Linked DNA regions of Homo sapiens: region 2 is linked to region 1. Evidence: promoter capture Hi-C in human tissues and cell types (Jung and others, 2019). All regions are on one chromosome and are shown on one strand. Each heading gives the region's core, a stretch centred on a gene start or on the middle of the fragment in contact. The rest is flanking DNA. Distances are from core to core; before and after follow the strand shown.

Region 1 (6,056 bases), core at 3,557-6,056:
TAGGTCTTTGGAGGGATTTCAGCCTTCTTTTCACTTGTATGAATCAGACAAGATCTAGCATCAATTTGGTTGATGATGGCTGGACAGAGATAGTTGAACTCTGTTGCATTCAGCGGAACCTGGATGCCCATGCCATGAGATGTCAGTAGCTTTGATGCATTGAAACACTGAAAGAAACAAAGCAGTGAAAATCACCAAAAGCCATCCCCATTAGAGTAGTCTGATGACACAATACCCTTTTTTACTAATGCTACTTCGTTTTCTCGAGTTAATGAAAATTAAAATCAACTTCTGTTTTGAGCACTTTGGAACTTGCCTCCAGCTACCTGGCGATACTATGTCACCACAGTGGTATCCCACCTCTTCTACCTCATCAGAGAAGCAGTACATCACGAGTCACCTAGGGAGAAAGCCTCAGGTGGAACAAGCATGAGGATAAATGGAGATTCACAAGCCTGTTAACTCACTGTATAAACGTATTAAGGAAATGAGCTTTAATTTCAAAATGGGGCTCATCAGAGATTGAGAAATATGTTGCTTCAGTACTAACGCTATCCTACTTGGCCTAAACAAGTCCAAGACATGCCTCTCTTCTAGTAATGACTCTACTTGCAAAAACTCAGTTCTGTCTACATACCTGGCAAAGTAATGCTCTGCAATGAGAGGATATTAAATTATGCAGATTATTCTTGTGGAGGGCAAGGCTGGTTAATAAAACAAACCTGTACCGGCAGGCAGATGTTTTCAACTATTTAATTAGATGACAAACTTAGTTTGAAGATACTCCTCTGTGCAATCTCTCCCCCAGCCAAAAAAGAAAAAAAAAAAAAAACAACAAAAAAACCCCAAACTGGCTTTAGTACCAGTTTCTCATCTTCTGTAAAGACATTTTCAACTCCCACCACAATTCTCAGTTGGTACAACTCAGAGCAAACTTTATCACCAGGGCTGCTATGGCTATGGCCACTACTAGGATTAGTCCAGAATTAGTACAGTCACATGCTGGTTTGAATGAAGTACTAAAGTTTTGCTTATTAAACTGTATCAACTAATTCCTTGTTCCTTTTTTTTTTGACATAATTCCCTGTTCTTGACATCTCTCAGCCAAGGTGAATTACGTACAGTCTGGAAGTCTACTCTAGAAAAACCACATGAACTCAGAACCTCACTGTCCCAACTTTTCCCTTGTCCAGCATGACATTCATGGAAACTGCTCCAATTTCAATCATTCCTCAAGTCATGGTGGACCTTCTGTCAAGGAGGCAGCAGTGGTATTCTCAGTAGTCTTCAGCCCCTTCAGTCACACCTTTCCCTACAATATGGATTCTAACTCCTGCTTTCAACCCCTCATTTTCTATTTTTTATTAATAATGTTCACCTTTATAGACTTTCTCTAAAGATAGCCTTGATATCTTTCTCTACATATTTTATATTCTGTATTAGAAAAAATTGTAGGAGGCAGCACTACGCTCACCAAAAGAACTGTTCCCTAAGTTCTGAATTGGGAATGTTTACAACATAGCAGGCATGCTTTGTGGCAAGTGCCTTGCTGAGAAGGTGGAAATTCCCTTTTCAATAACTTCAACATTTTACTTTTACTTTAAACTCCTCATAACTAGAGATAGAGTAGCAGAGACAGGACAGACACACAGGTATATTAAAATAATGAACAGCACTCATCTTACCTCCTGAGGATTTTCATTTGTGTTTCTGGAATACATAAAGCCTTTTCGGGGCTCACTCACAGATTCATTTGTTTTCCTACCAGCCAGCCGGCTCACCCGGCTCTTTGATGTGACACTGGGTGGAGTGGAGCTGCTTACATCTTTGGGGAAGAGTTTTCCAGGTCTTGGAGTCTCTATTGTCTCTAGAAAGTGAGTTCCTTCAGAGACAGTGTTGTACACAGTTGAGGTCACTTCACTAGCACTAACACTGTCCTTGACATTCCTTCTACCACTGGCATGTTCTGGTCGGTGAGCTCCTTTCCCCTGGCTGTTTCTAGGATCTTTACCTGAACTATCTGAGTCATGGTCTGGGCAAAGAGCTTTTCGCTTATTTTTACCAGAAGCAGCATGATTATGGTGAGAGTGATGATCATGGTCAGAGTGATGCTCGTGCTCTGAGTGATGCTCATGGTCTGAGTGACGCTCATGGTCTGAGTGATGCTCGTGGTCTGAGTGATGGTCGTGGTCATGGTGTATATGGATTCTTTTAATCTTATCTATGCCTATATTTTGAAGTAATTTTCTGAACCCTTCAACTGACAAAGAATTATTTTCTCCATAGCGGTAGAAAAGCTGTTGTAGATGATATTGCCGTGTGGAAATTGCCAAGTCAACATTAATGCCAGATTCCCAATTCGGACTAATTTTCTCAGTGGTCTGGGGGAAAGCAGCTGCTTTTAGTTCATGAAGGGGATTTGTGACAGAGAGGGCAAAGGTCAGGATCAAGATTACAGATAACTTCCTCGCCATTGCGCCTTCCTAGAAAAGACAGGAAAAAAAAATTCTTGACTCACTTCTAAAACAAATTGAATTAAGAAACCTCATACTGAAAATTAATGTGTAATCAAATAATCAAAGTTGCCAGAGCATCATGTGGTGTGACCAGTGTGACGCTAGGTACTGTGAAGATGGAAAGAACTAGAGTCCTAGGCTCTACCCTTGCATTCCTAAAACACATGAAACAACTGGAGAAGAGCTGAGTGCTAAGAGACTGCCATTAGCACTGTAAAAGCAATAGTAATTCAGAGACAAGGGAGATCCATGTGGCCACAGCCATCAACTGCTTACTGAAGTTGAGAATTTATTTGAACGATTATTTGAATCATTGAGGCCAATGATTCATAATTAAATCTAGGCTGGGTGTGGTGGCTCATGCCTATAATCCCAGCACTTTGGGAGGCTGAGGCAGGCAGATCACCTGAGGCCAGGAGTTTGTGACCAGCCTGGGCAACATTGTGAAACCCTGTCTCAAAAAAAAAAAAGAACGAAATGAAATCTAGCTACCTTGATCATCACCATCATTTCATAAAATAACCTTCAAACACCAAAAAATAGAAATAATAATCTCAGAATTCACATATTTAAAAAATTTTAAACTAATACACTCTCCTTACATACAAGCCCATTTAAGACCCCTTTCCCCAATCACAATCCTCAAAGGTGCTCAATTTTGCCAGTGTATCCCTCAGGATATTTTCTATGCATACTCAAATACATGTATACTTAATTTTTTTTTTAAAGTTTTTTTTTTTTTTTTCTAGAGACGAGGTCTCACTATGTTGTCCGGGTTGGTCTTGAACTCCTGGCCTCAAGAGATCCTCCACCTCCAATTCCCAAAGTGCTGGGATTACAGGCGTGACCACTACGCCCAGCCTCAAATAAGTGTATACTTTAAATACACATTGAATCTTTTTTCCGACTTGACAATGAATCAGACACATTATGTCCATACATAGAATTCTTAAAGTAAACTGAACTTCATGAAAAACTCACTGTAGCATCCTTGTGTTACTACAAACCAGTCAACATTTAATCACAGGCTGTTAATCATCCACAGTAGTGTTTGGAACCAAAGGCCTGTGCCCCAAAGAGGAGGAAGCAATTGAGTTGGAGCTTGAAAAGCAGAATTCAGTTAAGCAGAGCCAGAATTCAGTTAATTCAGATCCAGCAGGATGTCCAGCACCAACGGTGGAGGTGATGGTGGTCAAACTCACATCTCCAGCAAAAGACGCAGACGTCAAGTTTACAACTAAGCAAGAGCATGGGGCTATCCAGCTCTACCACGGTCAGCTGTTCTTTGGACAGGGCTCTCGCATTCATTACCTTATCTAAAATACCGGTAAAACCTATTTTGCAAGGCGAAGGAGGAAAACACATGAAGGAATGTATATTACAAGTACTCGTTAAACTCATGTGTTGCACAAGTGCGAGGTATCATACAGGGAACAGTGGGAAATGGAGGTACGGCGTAGAACGAGGCTCCTGAAAGAGGAATCTTTGGGGCTTGAAGTTTCGGGAATTCTTTTACTAGGTAAAAGATAAACATTTAGAAATCATTCCCAGGAGAGAGGCGAGGAGCGGGGTGGGAGGGGACTAGCACAGGGGACAGCTCCGAGCCTTTCTCCAGGGAGGATGCTGAGCGCGGTCGTGGACCCGTTGAAGGATCTCCTTTCCTGCAAGTTGGTGTGTGCTGGAGGAAAAAGGAAAGCAGAAGGGAAGGGCCTTAGAGAAAAAGGCGAGTACAGAAAACGGAAAAGAGGGCACAAAGCTCTCTTCTAAAAGCTTTTTATTTCTAAACACGTCAGTCCCTTCTTCGAATATGGGATGAAAAGTACGGATCTTTTCCTCAAAAAATCCTCCGTTGCACCCCGAAGCCCATCTGAGCACCTTAAGAAGTCCGGCTCTCTAGGGTGAGTGGGCGCCTGCGGCGGGCTCCCCCCAGCATCCTCTTTCTGTAGCCCCCCTGCCCGGTCCGCAGGATCCGGTTCTCCGCAGAACCACCCCTACCCCGCCACGCCTGTCTGGCCTGAGGAGCTCCCCTCCCAGCCGCCCTGCTCCCGGACCTGAAAGACTCACGTCTCCGCGGCCTCGTTGTCCCACGGCCCGGCCACGCGCGCAGGTTTGGTTCCACACGGGCGGTCCAGAGGGCTCGGAACGGGCCCACTGGTGTCTTCGAGAAATCTCTACCAGGCGCGAACACGCGGTGGTTTCATTGGGTTGGCTGCCCCTCGGTCCGGGGGCAGCGCCGCGCAGCCACCCGGCAGCCGCGCCCCTAGCCTTCGCGAAGCTGGAAGACAATCACTAATTACCGCCGCGCGCAGCGCCGCGGGGAACCACCGCCCCCTTCGCCCAGGACTGCAGGGCATGCGCAGTGCGACCCCGGAACCCGGCTCCGCAGACGGATCCGCTTTTCCGTGTGTTCGCCGACGCCGCGGGGGCGTGGCGCGGCCCTAGCGCATTGTAAGCAGTTGGGGGTCATTTCCTCGAGGCCCTACTCGCTAGCCAGCGCCCCCGGGGCCAGCCCTGGCTGCTGCTGGGAGCCGGGTCGTAAGGGGCAGCGAGATGTTTCTGACGCTGCCCCAGGCACATGAGCCCCGGGTCCTTCGGGAGGGTCCCGAGCCACTCGGGTCGGATTTCGCTCTTGAGACAAAGGCCTGGCTCGTTCGCGGAGCGGGGCCACGGTCCAAGAGCAGAGCTAGCAAAGCGGCGGCCTTGCACAGGGGTTCCAGCCTGCGGTGGGAACGGAGAGTCTCAGGGGGGCGGGGCTGCCTCCGTCTGGCCCTCGGCTGGCTGCGAAACGTGGACTGGGTGATGCCTCAGGAGAAACCACCCTAGTAGTTCCGCTCCGAGGGCGGAAGTGCGCGTCTCTTGTTTGTGCGGCTGACCAGTTGGCGACATGGTGGCACCCGTGCTGGAGACTTCTCACGTGTTTTGCTGCCCAAACCGGGTGCGGGGAGTCCTGAACTGGAGCTCTGGGCCCAGAGGACTTCTGGCCTTTGGCACGTCCTGCTCCGTGGTGCTCTATGACCCCCTGGTAAGAGAGGTCGCTGGACGGCCGACCCTTGTGCTTTTCGGGTTGAACCTGTGGACGTGCTCCGGGCGCGCTGTTAGTTGCCGCCCCAGACCTAGGAGGCGAGTCGGGTCGGCTCAGGGGAGCGGGGTTTGGGCTCGGAGTCTCCAGTGGACCTGCCGGACTCGCTCCTCACCCCTCACCCTTTGCCGTCTCACGCGTGGCGTCATCCTAGGGTCATTGCTGCCCATGAGCTGCTAGTAACCTGTTAGTCCCACGCAGAAACCCGAATGATAAGCATCTTACCTGAAGCCTTCCTTGGGAACTGTAGTACCGTTAATCAATTTGGGTTTTAAAACAATTGAAATTTATATGTAGATTAAAACCATCATCCCACAGGTGCAATCTCATTTCAGTATTTCCTTCAGTTTTGGTTAATGAACTTTTGTTGTATTGAATTTCAAGGAAATGTTACCTGTGTTTTAGCTACGGGAATGGACATTTTAGAGAAAGTGTCAGTTTGGGGGAAAGGTCATAGGGGA
Region 2 (5,674 bases), core at 1,390-3,889, 1.1 Mb before region 1:
TATTCTCTTGACTCTTGCCATTTTGTTTTTCACCTTTTTTTAACTAAACATCTCCTTTTTCCCTTAGAGAAAAACTATAAAATGCCACCTCCTCCCTTTTAATTAAAAAAAATAATAATTCTACCAGCAACATCTCCAGACCTGTGTCTCGGAATAATCACATCATGTTGGATCTATCACAAATATTTTATTTTTACACAATGATTTTAAGCTAAATAAACACCAAGTCATTTCTGAAATGGTCATAGAAAACACAGAAGAGCAATGTAGGGCTTAGGTGGAAAGTGGGGAAGAGAGTTAAGGCTCATATGTATATGCAAGTCAGGTCATTCATAGCAGCATCCAGTTGAAACATAGCAACCTCCTCCGTAACCGTTCATCCCCCAAACACTTGATTCTCAAAGCAAACTCAGACTCCTCCATTTCTTAGCCTCCAGAATTGGATTTGTCCCTCATCAGTTTACTGTCTTACTGCCTCATTTAGTCAAAGCATATTTTGAAAATAAATAGGTAATTCATATAAAGAAAGTCAATTGGCTGTGCACGGTGGCTTACGCCTGTAATCCCAGCACTTTGGGAAGCCAAGGCAGGCGGATCGCGAGGTCAGGAGATCGAGACCACCCTGGCTAACACGGTGAAACACCGTCTCTACTAAAAATACAGAAAAATTAGCCGGGCATGGTGGCGGGCGCCTGTAGTCCCAGCTACTCGGGAGGCTGAGGAAGGAGAATGGCGTGAGCCCAGGAGGCAGAGCCTGCAGTGAGCCGAGATCGCGCCACTGCACTCCAGCCTGGGCGACAGAGCGAGACTCCATCTCCAAAAAAAAAAAAAAAGAAAAGAAAGTAAATTACTAAATTACTGCTTATTGGTATGTACATTTTAAAGTCGTTTATAATGCTTATCCTGTTGAAATTAAAAATCTTTTTGACTAGAAAAAGCCTGTGTTGATACTAAATATAAAACCTGGTTAAACCTAAGTTTGGGGAATTCAGTACTTTAATTGATGTTGGTATTTGATACCCCACTAGAGGCACTGCTCCTTGGGGTTATCCGCCGACATGATTCCCGTCACATCAGACTATCAGGGCAGGGGAAAAACAAAAGAAAAAATATTTTCATAGGACTGACATTATACTAAATTTTTATCAACTATTAATCAATATAAGAATTGATCTAATAATATATATTGAGAGTATAATTCTATTGTCTGGCTGACTTAATCACTTTCATATGGTAAGATTGATTGACTTTTGGATATTTGGCGTGTATTTTTTCTTTAATTTTTTCCATTGCTGGCCACACCCACTAAACTAAATTATAACTCTTTGCTTCCATATTTTCATCATATTAAATGCTTGCACTCTTTTTTTCTTCCATTTTTACTATCCCAGTGTCCTGTTTCCCAGAGGAACAGTTCATTTCAACAGCCAGGGAGAAAGCCTGGATGCTCAAGGTAAGGTTTATATAAATTACGTTGCATGACTCCTTGCTTAAAAATTAATTTAAAGTGAGTAGTAATATTGTCATTGTAACAAATTTATTTTCAAAATTCCAGTACACAATTAAAGCCGATATTTGAGTAAATATGCTCTTTTAAAACACTATTTTTCAAATCAAATTCCATTTCCCAAGTGTACGAAGGGCTAATTAATTGCTATTAGTAATTCCTCCAAAAATGGTCAAGCCAATTAATTAAAGTTTAATTTTGAAAAATCTTATGATAGGTGGGGAGGGTAGAATATCAAGATATGGTCAAAATGAACTCATGACATCGCTATTTATAAATAAATGATTTTTATTTGATATTGTTAAGAATCAAGAAAGCCACTCTGTTGGCTTTGAGAGGCAGAAAGAGAGACAGAGTGAGAGCGTGCGAGCGTGCGAGCATGTCTGTGACAGAGATGACGAACCTGGAAAGCCTCATTTTTTTCTGTCTGGGATTTGTCTTTGAGATGCAATCATTTTGACCTTCAGTTATTTCGAACTATTACTCTAAGTCTCTGTAAGTAATGTCTTCAAGAGTCACCTCCAGGAGCCCTTAGAACAAAGGAACAATTAACTGAAATTCCACCAGATGGCAATGTTTGGAAAGCCATTCAGAGAGGTCCCAAGCTACAAGCTATTATTGTTCACACAGAATAGTCTCACAAAGTGTGGTGTAACATCCTATATTTCATCAAAGGTACTCTAAACATCTTTTATTTTACTCCTATTTCTCCACAGCATCAAACATTTTTACTTAAAAAAAAAGTGTGTGGGGACGTATGTGTTTTCTTCTTTCAAAAAAAAATTCTGGAATGATAAAATTAGAAACCTCATTCTTGAATAGTAATTCTCTAAACAGTAATGGTGACTATTAAAAGCTCAAATCATGAATAATATACCATATTTGTTTTGGGGCCTCATTGTAATAAATGCTATGACTGGTGGTCACTTTTTAAATATTTGAGAAGAGAAACTGAAATTCTTCCACTTAATAGCATTTTAAGAAGTTGTCTTGATATTAAAATTTGCAGGTATAAAATTCACTGTATTGACTTGGAACAATTAGTTTATTTAGTGTGGAAGAATAGATGTTTTCTCCTGTTGCTCTAGTGAAAGTGGAAATATGGAGCACTTTTGTAGGCTGAGGTGAGCACATTACCAGAGGTTAGGAGTTAAAGACCACTCTGGCCAACATGGCAAAACCCTGTCTCTACTAAAAATATAAAAACTAGCTGGGCATTGTGGTGCATACCTGTAATACCAGCTACTCGGGTGGCTGAGGCACAAGAATCACTTGAACCCAGGAGGCAGAGGTTGCAGTGAGCCAAGATCGTGCCACTGCACTCCAGCTTGGGTGACAGAGCAAGACTCCATCTAAAACAAGCAAACAAAGTGGAGATATGGTACCCTGCATGATGTTCCAACAGCTGGAATATTCAGGGGCCAGAGCAGGCTCTAGGACAGAGTTGGGACAGGGCTCAGTGGAAAGGTACCTGAGGGCATTAGAAATAGGAAGAACCAGGAAGAGAAACCACCTAAGCTTTCTGTGTCTATAGCTGCGGATCATAAGTGCCCTTTGAAAACTGATCTTGTACTGCTAGCCCTTATAGTAGGTGGTCCATATGTCGGGTCTGTATGAGGCAATCCTGGTTCAAGTCTGTGTTCCTGGAAAATAGTCTAGTTAGCACTGCCTTTCACCCTCAAAACGTTTCATTTTGGATGATAAATTATATGATCATCCTATCTTCCAGGCTGGTGAAGAAAAAGTAACAGGAAAAGGTGGCCCACTATCTAAATAGGGTGTTGCTTTCTAAATCTCCTTATATATGGGGGTATGGGACAAATGTGTTTTTAAAGAGCCAAATTGTAAATATTTTTTGCCTTGCTGGTCATACAAGTCTCAGTCTAAACTGTTCAACTCATTGTAGTGTGAAAACAGACAAAGATAACACATAAAGAGATGGCCTTGGCTGTGTTCAGTAAAGCTATTTACAAAAACAGGCAATGGACTATACTTGGCCTGCAGGCCATCATTTGCGCATCCATGATAGATAACAGAGATGGGTTAAGTTGGTAGGAGATGGCAGAGAACCAAAGAGAGAACCATCATTAGTCCCTCTCCCTTCTCTCTATATCCCTTCTGGGTTGCACCCTCCTTTATTTAACCCTTTCAGGAACTAGTACAGTTGACCCTTGAACAACATGGGTTTGAACTGCACGGGCTTACTTATAAGTGATTTTTTTTTTTCAATAAATGCAGTCAAACTTCCATATCCGTGGATTCCAGATCCGCAACCAAAAGTAAACTGAAAATACAGTATTCATCGGTATATGAAGCCAAAGGCAGCCAGCTTTTCATATTGCTGGATTCAGTGGGCCAACTGGGGGACTTGAGCATGAATGGATTCTTGTGGGGGAAGGAAGGTTCTGAAACCAATCCCCTAGGGAAAGCTGTATTGATCATTTCCTTGAATGAGTAATCCTATCTGCTATTAAGTGGTTCCTGAGATTCCTTTACTGGGTGTCACTTCTTGTTTCTCATCCAAATCTGTTCCTGCACCACACACAACATGCTTGTACTTTATACCTCATGATGTATAAGACTCAGGTGACACCTGAGTCTTAGTGTTAAATACTGAAGCAATAGCTCATTAGTAGGCAATTTAATTTTATGCTTTGATCCTCACTAAATAGTTATCTTTGGGAAATATAATCAGTCACGTTAAGGAAAAGTTCATGTCGACTATACCAAATTTTTTATTATATTAATGAAAAGTAACATAATACACTTAAAGAAAACCTAGAGGAGAAAATCACCCATAACAACACCATCCTAAAATAACTATTTTTCCATTTTTGCATATTTGGTCTTCTCACGGGCATTCCTAATTTTCCACAGTGCATATCATAATGAGTGTGAACTTTGTATTTTACCTACTGTGAGTCACAGCATCTTTTACTTTCATGGGTCATCAGAACTATTATTGGAATTGCAGTATAATGTTATATCAACATGCCATAGTATGTGCTTTAATTCTTACTATCTTCCCATTTTCACTATAAAAAATGCTATGCTAAATTTTTATACAGATCTTGTTGTTGGTTTGGTTTCGTTTGGTTTGTGTCTATTCATCTATTTTCTAAGGTCACAATCCCAGAAGTGGGATTATCTGTCAAGGACAGACCATTTTTATGACTTTTAATCTAGTTTACTATATTTTTCCCAGAGATTTGGAATAATTTACAAACATTTATAGTTTTAGGGTACTAGTTTCACCATAACATTTTCAGAAAGCATTTAATTTATTCAATAGTATTTACTGAATGATTACTAACTGTAAAGCACTGTGCTGAGTGTTTTGGGGTGTGTGTGTGTGTGCATGCACGTGTGTGTGTGTACATATATATATATGAATGATGTGCTCATTCTACATTTATTTTGTGCCTACTATCAGCTAGGTATTGTAGTTTTTCAATAGTGAGCAAGAGATAGCTTCTATCTCAGAGCATTTGACTTTACTGGGGAACTAAGATATATGTAAACGACTTTAGTAAGAAAATAAGATGCACCATAGGAGAAATACAGTTACAGTATAATGGGAGTTTGGGGAGGGGGAGGTAGAGATGACATCTGAGCTGAGCCATGAAGGTGAGTTGGTGTGGAATACTCAGGGATGGTGAGATTAGCTATTCATTCCATAAACATGTATTGATCACCAACTCTGTGCCAAGTTTTATGGTAAAAGCTAGGGATATAGAGGTGACCAAGGCAGAGCTCTTAAAGCATACTATCTAATAGTGTAAAGAATATTTTTTAAAAAATCATTATAAGGGTGATAAGCAGGCTAGCTTGCCTGGCAGAAGATACACAAGGTTAGGGATGAATGCGAGTTTCCCCTGGAATGAAACTTTTCCATGGCTTCTCTTTTGTAAGGCACAGCCTTCATCATCAGTTATTGTGTCAGAATCTGTGGGAACATCTGCTTCTGGAAGCTTGAAGTTTCTTGTAATTGCACTTGTACTGACCAACATTCCAATTAAAGTTGGCCTGCATTGACAGTCCCCTAAATGAGTACATTTACTGAGAATGCACGGAGGATAGGCCTGGGATCGGTGAGACCTACAACTTGGCCCTCACCAGATGATGATGGAAGTAAATCACTAAAAATTGTGGGTTTCATTTGTGTTT

Evidence for each region. The method cuts DNA at HindIII sites, captures the fragments that hold promoters and counts their contacts. A contact is called where the count stands out against the background at its distance.
Region 2: a fragment that was not itself captured here is called in contact with the fragment with the promoter of SLC39A6 in region 1 in 1 of the 25 tissues and cell types used here (dorsolateral prefrontal cortex).

Annotation. Positions count from the first base shown.
Region 1 is chr18:36,124,534-36,130,589 of GRCh38, forward strand. It overlaps SLC39A6 (solute carrier family 39 member 6), which reads right to left and starts at 4,807. Exons shown (of 10, transcript NM_012319.4): 1 at 4,581-4,807; 2 at 1,686-2,483; 3 at 1-167. The coding sequence starts at 2,474. It overlaps ELP2 (elongator acetyltransferase complex subunit 2), which reads left to right and starts at 5,366. Exons shown (of 22, transcript NM_018255.4): 1 at 5,366-5,538. The coding sequence starts at 5,401. RefSeq lists enhancers at 4,605-5,110, 4,733-5,027, 5,058-5,247, 5,111-5,616, 5,408-5,617. The HindIII fragment of the contact is 7,969 bases long and covers 1,568-6,056 here.
Region 2 is chr18:35,004,101-35,009,774 of GRCh38, forward strand. It overlaps a transcript of MAPRE2 not described here. Among named protein-coding and RNA genes, the nearest start is that of MAPRE2, 34 kb to the right of the region's middle. The HindIII fragment of the contact is 3,223 bases long and covers 1,029-4,251 here.